Linked DNA regions of Homo sapiens: all the other regions are linked to region 1. The links are contacts of gene promoters, found by promoter capture Hi-C in blood cells and fetal thymus (Javierre and others, 2016). All regions are on one chromosome and are shown on one strand. The core of a region is centred on a gene start or on the middle of the fragment in contact, and the rest is flanking DNA. Distances in the headings are between cores, read along the strand shown. Region 1 holds the start of LLGL1 (LLGL scribble cell polarity complex component 1). Region 2 overlaps MYO15A (myosin XVA). Region 3 overlaps SHMT1 (serine hydroxymethyltransferase 1).

The links. The method cuts DNA at HindIII sites, captures the fragments that hold promoters and counts their contacts. A CHiCAGO score of 5 or more calls a contact.
Region 2: a contact is called between a fragment that was not itself captured here and the fragment with the promoter of LLGL1 in region 1, in 1 of 17 cell types (M2 macrophages). The highest score is 5.1, in M2 macrophages.
Region 3: a contact is called between a fragment that was not itself captured here and the fragment with the promoter of LLGL1 in region 1, in 1 of 17 cell types (endothelial precursors). The highest score is 6.5, in endothelial precursors.

The regions. Positions count from the first base shown.
Region 1 is chr17:18,224,385-18,227,318 of GRCh38, forward strand. It overlaps LLGL1 (LLGL scribble cell polarity complex component 1), which reads left to right and starts at 1,251. Exons shown (of 23, transcript NM_004140.4): 1 at 1,251-1,379. The coding sequence starts at 1,299. RefSeq lists silencers at 913-1,392, 1,543-1,712. The HindIII fragment of the contact is 4,006 bases long and covers 441-2,934 here.
Region 2 is chr17:18,131,424-18,134,378 of GRCh38, forward strand. MYO15A (myosin XVA) reads left to right here. Exons shown (of 66, transcript NM_016239.4): 10 at 45-108; 11 at 1,030-1,143; 12 at 1,802-1,963. Among named protein-coding and RNA genes, the nearest start is that of MYO15A, 24 kb to the left of the region's middle. The HindIII fragment of the contact is 6,162 bases long and covers 1-2,955 here.
Region 3 is chr17:18,344,983-18,347,849 of GRCh38, forward strand. SHMT1 (serine hydroxymethyltransferase 1) reads right to left here. Exons shown (of 12, transcript NM_004169.5): 5 at 2,514-2,674. Among named protein-coding and RNA genes, the nearest start is that of MIR6778, 5.5 kb to the left of the region's middle. The HindIII fragment of the contact is 4,313 bases long and covers 1-2,867 here.

The DNA.
Region 1 (2,934 bases), core at 1-2,500:
AGTCAGCTGAAACCAGGAAAGGGCTTTGAACAGCGCCTGCCCCGCAGTAGACACTTAGGGGCTTTACTGTCGTCATTCTCCCTCCTCTCACCTCCTCACTCACTCCTGGGCCCTCTTCCGGATCCAGCCCCAAATACGGGGAAGGGCTGAACACCGCCGGCCTGGCGTGGGTGGAGGGGGACAGCCAGGCCCCAAGGCTTGGCAGCCGCCTCGGGCTCAGAGGTCAGCTCCTGCTCCCTGGACACAGCTGGTGGGGTTGGGGCCTGTCCTACCTGCCCCACCTAAGCTTCTAGGACCTCCCGCAGCCCCAGCCCTGAGCCAGGCGGCCTATCCTCAGCCTGGAAGGAAAGGTTCAGCCTCGAGGCCATTGTCCAGATGAGAAAAGGCCTGGGAGGTGGGTGGGGACAGGCAGACGGCCCCTGAGAGTAGGGGCAGGGCTAAGCTTTGTTCAGACGCTGTTCTCTGCGGGGGGAGGTCCTTCCCCCATCTCCGTAAAGCTCCAATCCAACCCCAGAACAGTCCCAAATGCCACCTCCTGGGGATCCCGTCTCTTTCTTTGGCTAAGAAAGAATCCCCTGTGCTGTGACACAGAGCCTTTTGCGTTGGGTCCTGAAAGATGTGTAGGAGTTCCCCAGGGGCTGGGGGTGAGGAAAGAATTCCTGACTACAAAGCCAAGGCAAAAGCACGGCGGTGGGAGGTGCTCTGACAGAGCGGGGAACAGACGAAATGGAGTTCTGTGAAATTGGTAAAATATAAACTTGGCAATCACTTGACCAATGGTGTAGATGGGGAAACTGAGGCGCAGAGGGGCCAGGGAGTTGTTCCAGTCAGAGCTGTCTTGGCTTTCGGAACAGGGCTGCCCCATTACATGAGTGGGCACGTCGCTCGCTCTCTGGGAGGAGGAAAAAGTCTCCTCCAAGCCCGGGAACGTGCGCCAATCCCCCTCCAAAGCGCTTCCCCAGCCGCCCGCGCTGGAGCCCCGGCTCATGGACTACAAGTCCCGGCAGGCCCCGCGCCGCGGCGCATGCTAGGCGGGCGTCCCTTCGCGAGCCCGGCCGAGCCCGGGGGCCCAGTTCACCATTGTCTGGCCAACAGGGGCGGGGCGGGCGGCACGGCGGGCTCGCTCACTGGTCGGGCGGCGCGTCCGTCGCGCCCGGCGCCCACCCCCGTGCAGGCCCGGCCCCGCGCGCCCGCGCCCGGGCCGCCTGGCGCCCCGCCCGCGCCTTAGGACCCGCGGGGCCGCGCGGCGCATCCTGCGGGCGGCGGCGGCGGGCGAGGCGCCTGCAGCCGGGCGCAAGATGATGAAGTTTCGGTTCCGGCGGCAGGGCGCCGACCCGCAGCGCGAGAAGCTCAAGCAGGAGCTTTTCGCCTTCAACAAGGTGCGGCGGCGGCCCGGGCCCGGGCTCGGGCGGGAGGGGGCGGGACGGGGGCCTGGGCTGGGGGCCCGGGGTCGGAGCCACGTCGGGCCCGGGGGGCGGGGGCTGGCATGCAGCGCGGCGCGGGGCGGGGCCGGGCCGGGCCGCGCACCCCCTCGGCGGGCCCCGCTCTGGCTCGGACTCTGGGTGGGTCTGGGTCTCCGGCCGACTTTCCGTGTCTGCTCCCCGAGTCTCTGCGGGCCGCTCTGGCCCTGGCTCTGCCAGTCTGTGTGTGTGGGGGTCTGTCTCTGAGACTCTTTGCCTGTCTCTGGGTCTCTGTCCCTCTTTCTCCGCCGCTGACCGGCTGTCTCGCCCCAGTTGTGCCTGTGTGTGTGGTGGGGGTGTCTCTGCCTCTGCCCCTTCCTATCTCTGCCTGTCTCCCTTTATCTCTCTGCCTCTCATTTCTCTTGCTGCCTGTGCGTCTCTGAGTCTTCTTTGCCTGTCTCTCCCTGCGTGTCTCTCTCTCTGTCTCTGTGGAGTCTCTCGACCTCTGTCGCTCACTTCTGTCTCTTTATCCTTTTTCTTAGGGGCTCCATTGCGTCCCTGCTCGGCCCTTGGGACAGCCCTGGGGCCCGGTTTGTTTTGTGCTTTGGCACCCAGGAGGGTGAGAGAGTTAGTGGGGGCGAGGCAGCTGTGGGGGGTGCGGCTGGGAAATCCCTTCAAGGAGCCTCTCCTTCCTTCCCCCACTGCTCCAGGCTCTGCCTTGCCCTGCTCTGCCCTGCCCGGGGCTCCGAGTCCAGGGGACATGCCTGGCTGTGTACTACACTGCACTTCGCATCGTGGGGCCTCAGTTTCCCTAGCTGTGAAATGAGGCTACTTTTCTCCATACTGTGGGCCCTGGCTCCCTCTGCCACATGGGCCAGCTGTCCTGCCTTTCTGCACCAAGGTGGAGTGAGGTGGAGGCTTTTCCTTCCTTTCCCGGAGTGGGACACTAGGGGCCAGGGAAAGGGGCCGCCTCAGCCCCCGCCTCCCTCTGCACTGATGTTAGAGCAGGGCCTCAGCCCACTCCTGGCTCACTGCTCTGGGGACGTTGGTTTTGTCCTCATTCTTACCCCAGAGCCCACTGATGGCAGAGCCTCTCAGTGCTCTTCGAAATTAGAGTTATCTTCAAAATACAGGTGAGAAAATTGAGGTTCTGAGAGGGGTGACGGCTTGCCCGGAGTCAGAGTGAGCTGCACCAATATCTTTCTTGAGTTCTTGTGTCAGTGGGGTTGGATTTTAGCCTTGAGGGGCAGGGATTTTTCCAAGGGGCTGCTGTGGTCCTGGGCCAGTGTTGTGCCAGGCGCCCTGGGCTGCCTTGAGGAGACACTTGTCTTGGAGGAGGCTCTGGGACGGCTGGACCTGGAGTAGTGGAGGCACTGGGATGTCTCAGGGTTTCCCTGCCTAGGTCTGCAGTGATTGCCGATGAGAGCTGCCAGGACCCTCACACGGTGGCTGAGAACCTGCTAGGAACCTGAGAGGGGCCCAGAAGGGAAGCTGGTGCTCCGTGGTCCCCAGATGGCACCTATTTTCTGTGCCG
Region 2 (2,955 bases), core at 102-2,601, 93 kb before region 1:
GCCCTCCTACCCTCACTGAGAGCTGACTGTGCTCCCCACCCCAGGGGCGTGATCTCTGGTGCCATAACCTCCCAGTACCTGCTTGAGAAATCCAGGATCGTGTTTCAGGTGGGCCACCCCCTCCCAGGCCTCTGTGTTGGGCAGGGTCGGGGTGGGAGGTACAGATACTCAGAGCCTGGCCCCTGGTAGGGCTAGGTAGACGTCAAATTAATGAACGAATACATGCGTACATGTGTACATGTGAGCCCAGGACCTCCCCTCCCCGACCCTCCTCCAGCCACGGTGGCTCCTCCCTGCCCCGCAGCACACAGGCACGCTCCTGCCAGGGCCTTTGCACCTTCTGTTCCTTCCCTCAGGAGCACTTATCCTTCAGGCACCTGCTTGGCCAAACCCCTCACCTCCTCCAAGTCTCCCCTACAATTTCACCCACTCAGGAAGCTCCCCATTTAAAAACGCAGCCCCTCTCCATCCCATCAGAGCCCCTACCCCGTCCACTGCTTTATTTCTCTCCAGTGTACTTTTCCCTGTCTCATATATTTTATGTTTTAAGCAGTTATTTGCTGAGTGTCTGTCTCCCTAGCTAGCAGGTGGGCTCCATCAGGTCAGGGGCTTCTCTCTACGTTGTTCCCCACTATGTCCCAAGGGCCTAGGACAGGGCTTGGTGCACAGGAAGTGCTCAGCCATCAAGAAGCTCTGTGTGTGCACATGTGGGCTATGGACACACATGTATGCAGGTGTGTGTGGCCGGTACACATAAGAGAAGACGGGTCCCTTTTCTCTTATTTCTCCTAACCAAATAAAATCCCACCAGAACCCTCTCAAACTTCAATCATACCAGGGCACCTCTGCTTCTGCCCTCACCCGCAGCTGGCACCAGGCTGGGAGCCTCACCCATCACAGAGGCGCGTGTTCTCATCTGCAGCCCACTGTGTGCATGTGCACTTGTGGGCAGGCTTGGGCTTGTATGTGTGCCTGGGGGTCACCTAGGTAGGTGGCTCCCTTCTCTGTGCCCACCTACCCACTCTACAGGCCAAAAACGAGAGGAATTACCACATCTTCTACGAGTTGCTGGCCGGGTTGCCTGCCCAGCTCAGGCAGGCCTTTAGCCTGCAAGAGGCTGAGACCTACTACTATCTGAACCAGGTGAGTGCCAGCAGGCATCTGAAGGCCCCTGGCCCTGGTCCTCCCACCCCGACGCCCCTGGCTGGGCCTTGGGAGCCGAGTTGTGAGTGATGGAGTGTGAAGGTGAAGGAGATTTGGGGAGGGTGAGTTTGGATTTAAGACATCTCATGGCAGTGAGGGGGACCAGGAGTCTTCTGGGTCCAAAGCGGAAGCAGGAAAGGCCTACCTGACTTCATTTCTCTGGAACCTGGAACAGAACCAACCAGTCTAGAGTTTCTACACTTCCCCTCTCTGTGCCTCAGTTTCCTCACCTGTAAAATGGGGACAACATAGTACCACTTTGCAGGGATGTAGTGAGGCTTAGATGAGGAAACGCATGTAAAGAGCTTAGCACAGGGCCTGGCATGCAGTACATGCTCAGTAAACACTTGCTACTCTTTTCATTACTATCACTGGGCAGCTGCAAAGGTCAACAGGTGACAACCCCTGCCACACATTGCACTTAGAATCTATGAACTCCGTCCTCAGCCGTGCTCAGAGCCTCCGTGCCCATGAGAGTGAAATGACAGCTTGAGTGACCAACTCAGGCCACCACACTACTGGTCAGGGCAGAGCAGGACCTGGAGGGCTCCCCAGCCCCACCCAAGCTCCCTGACCCTCAGCCTCTGCCCTCATGCAGGGTGGGAACTGTGAGATAGCAGGAAAGAGCGATGCAGATGACTTTCGCCGGCTCCTGGCTGCCATGGAGGTGTTGGGCTTCAGCAGTGAGGACCAGGACAGCATCTTCCGCATCCTGGCCTCCATCCTGCACCTGGGCAACGTCTACTTTGAGAAGTATGAGGTGAGGGGACGCCACAGCCTGCCATGGGGCCCGCACCCTCTGGACTTGGCCGTCTTTTCCAAGGCCTTCTCTGTTTCCCTTTCAGATTACACTATGCACATATCACTTGTTCCTGTTTTTTTCTTTTTTCCTTTGGGGTTGTTCATCTTTTTCCTCCTTATATATATTAAGGAAATCAGCCCTTTGTGTCTGATATGAATTGCAAATATATATTCCAGTTTGTCATTTATGTTTTAACTTTGTTTACAATGTTTTTTGGTGGGTTTTTATTGGCGGGGAGGGGTCTCACTCTGTCACCCAGGCTGGAGTGCAATGGCGCAGTCTTGGCTCACTCCTGTTGGCTCACTGCAACCACCGCCTCCCAGGCTCAAGTGATTCTCCTGCCTCAGCCTCCCGACTGCCTGGGATTACAGGCACACACCACTACCGCCCCACTAATTTTTGTATTTTTAGTAGAGACGGGGTTTCACCATGTTGGCCAGGCTGGTCTTGAACTCCTGACCTCAAATGATCCACCGGCCTCGGCCTCCCAAAATGCTGGGATTATAGGCATGAGCCACCGCGCCCAGCCCTTTGGTGTTTATTTTATTTTATTTTATTTTTATTTATTTATTTTTTCTTTGAGATGGAGTCTCGCCCTGTCGCCAGGCTGGAGTGCAGTGGCGCAATCTCGGCTCATTGCAACCTCTGCCTCCCAGGTTCAAGCGATTCCCCTGCCTCAACCTCCTGAGTAGCTGGGACTACAGGTGTGTGCCACCACATCCAGCTAATTTTTGTATTTTTAGTAGAGATGGGGTTTCATCATGTTGGCCAGGATGGTCTCGCTCTCTTGACCTCGTGATCCGCCCACCTCGGCCTCCCAAAGTGCTGGGATTATAGCCGTGAGCCACCGTGCCCCGGCCTGTTGGGTTTTTTATGCAAATTGTTTTAAAATTATTTTTAGATAGTTCATTTATCAATATTTTCTAGTACATTTAAATTTTATATTTGAA
Region 3 (2,867 bases), core at 122-2,621, 120 kb after region 1:
TCTGCAGCCCGGTGGGGTGGAGGTGAGCTGCCTCTGGCTGCTGATGAATGCCAATAAGGTCTGTCTCCTCCTCCTGTCCGCCAAGGGCAGGACTCAAATCACCCCCACAGCGGGTGAGCTGCACCTCCTGCTGCCCAAGCTGGCCAGGGTCCCAGGCCCCACCTCTCCATGCCCATCCTGAGGTGGGTCCCCTCACTGCACCCACAGGACTGCAGCCTGCACAATGTACATCAAAGACGGGGGTGGCTGGAGGGAACTGGGTGCGGGACGCAGATTCTTTCTTTTTTTTTCTGGAGATGGAGTCTTGCTCTGTCACCTAGGCTGGAGTGCACTGGTGCAATCTTGGCTCACTGCAACCTCCGCCTCCCAGGTTCAAGTGGTTCTCCTGCCTCAGCCTCCTGAGTAGCTGGGATTACAGGTGCCCGCCACCACGTCCAGTTAATTTCTGTATTTTTAGTAGAGAAGGCTTTCACCATGTTGGCCAGGCTGGTCTCGAACTCCTGACCTCGGATGATCCGCCCACTTCGACCTCCCAAAGTGCTGGGATTACAGGAGTGCACCACCATGTATTTTTAGTAGAGACGGGGTTTCACTGTGTTGGCCAGGCTGGTCTTGAACTCCTGACCTCATGATCCGCCTGCCTCAGCCTCCCAAAGTGCTGGGATTACAAGCGTGAGCAACTGCACCCTGCCTTTCTTATTTATTTATTTTTTTTGAGATGGAGTTTCACTCTTGTCGCCCACTCTGGAGTGCAATGGAGCAATCTTGGCTCACTGCAACCTCCGCCTCCCAGGTTCAAGCAATTATCCCTCCTCAGCCTCCTGAGTAGCTGGAACTACGGGTGTGCACCACCACACCTGAGGAATTTTTTGTATTTTTAGTAGAGACAGGGTTTGAACATGTTGGCCAGGCTGGTCTCGAACTCCTGACCTCAGGTGATCTGCCCACCTCAGCTTCCCAAAGTGCTGTGATTACAGGTGTGAGCCACCGAGCCCAGCCAAGACAAACTATTTTGTTACTATTGTGACATGTTTCAAAATCTAGCTTCAAGGCTGGCCTTGGCCAATGAGGAGATCTGTGACTGCAAACACCTAGGTGTTCTGTGAAAAGAAATGACTGCAAAAAAGAGCACACGTGCAATCACCAGCACTGAGACAAAGGCTGAGTACACACAGAACCATGGACAGCATGCACCCAAGACCATGCAATGCCAGCCAAGCAGAAGGATGCAGTGCTACCTTTTTTCATGGTAACAAACATGAAACTAAGCAGGAATGGCACATTTATTAATAAAGAACATGAAAAGATGGTTCCGGGACACTAGAAAGAATCACCAACACTGGACACTAAAAGAAAAAGCAAGTTACCTCTTCTTCCCATTATCCTTCGTTTTTATAGATAAATCACCATGCCTGAATAAGCCCACACATCTTACAGGCATTTTTTGACCCAACTGTTTATACAGACGGGTCCCACGAAAAACAAGTATTTGCCTGGGGCCCTGCACACCCTAGAGGCAGCACTTGGCACTGGTTCTGATGGTGTTGGTTCCACTGCTGGGCTGGCTGCGTTATCAGGTATGTGCAGTGGGGTGGCAATGGCAATGGGGTGTACACCTGAGCCATACAGGTGCTCCTCAACTTATGGGGTTACATTCCAATAAGCTCATCATTAAGCTGAAAATATCATAAAGTCAAAAATGCATGTAATATACCTAACCTACCAAACATCACAACCTAGTCTGGCCTACCTTAAACATGCTGAGGACACTGTGGTACCCTCCACTGGGCAAGATAGTCAAACACAAACCTTATTTTATAATACGGTGTTGACTATCTCATGTAATCTACTGAATACTGTACTGAAACTGAAAAGCAGAATGGTCGTATGGGGGGCTTGAAGTACAGCTAATAACGCATGTCACTTTTGCACTATCCTAAAGTTGAACGCCCTAAGTCAAACCACTGTCTGTTCCTCTGTAGCCACTATACACAGGCAGGGGCTAGCCCTAACGTGGCCATGGAGGACTGTGGCTGTGGATGGTGCCGGGCTGCTGGTTTTGGTGCTGGAGCTGGGGACGTTGCCATGCCTGTAGCTACTGCATCCTTGTGCTGCTGCTGGCCCACAGGGGCTCCGAGCAGAGATGTCACCAGGCGAGGGCAGAGCTGCAGAGGTGGTGGCTGTTGCTGGGGTCCAACTGTAGTGACCTGGTTGCTATTCCCCAGGGTTGCTATTCCAAGCAGTTGCCACTGCCCCTGCCACATCTGAACTCTCCTCAGTAGTTGCCTCCCTCACTGGTTTCCCTGTGGCCTCAGCTCAGACCCTCGTCTCTCCATCCCAGCTGCCCCAGCGGGTCCTGAAAACCTGAGGAGTCCCCGCTGCAAGGAAATTAAAAACGGTGCGAGGTGGGGACTTCCTGTAGTGACACATAAACCAAACTTACCCCTGCAGGCACAGCCAAGCATCAGAGGTTTCCCAAGGAAATAAAAGCTAGGAGAGAAACACATGCTTACCTTGTAGGGCATAGATTCAAAGAAGATGGACGTGGCAGAGATTTTCTTCTTGTCTGTCATGAACCCATGGGTCAGGTGGCCCCCATCCGGAAGGTCCAGGCCCATGATGCGCCCATGGGGTTCCACCAGGGCAGTGTACACAGCAAAGTTTGCAGGGGAGCCTGAAACGAGTGGACCAGAGGAGACATGATTATTTCTAACTGAGGTACCAAGTGGCATCCGGGACCTTGGCCACTAAGCCTTCACCCAGGAGTGGCGAGAACAGGCCTTGTACCTTCCCTGAGCTCCAGGAGGTGCCCCTTCACCACCAGCCTTGAGAGGTGAAGTTCAGAGAGAGGGCACTGCCTGGGAGGG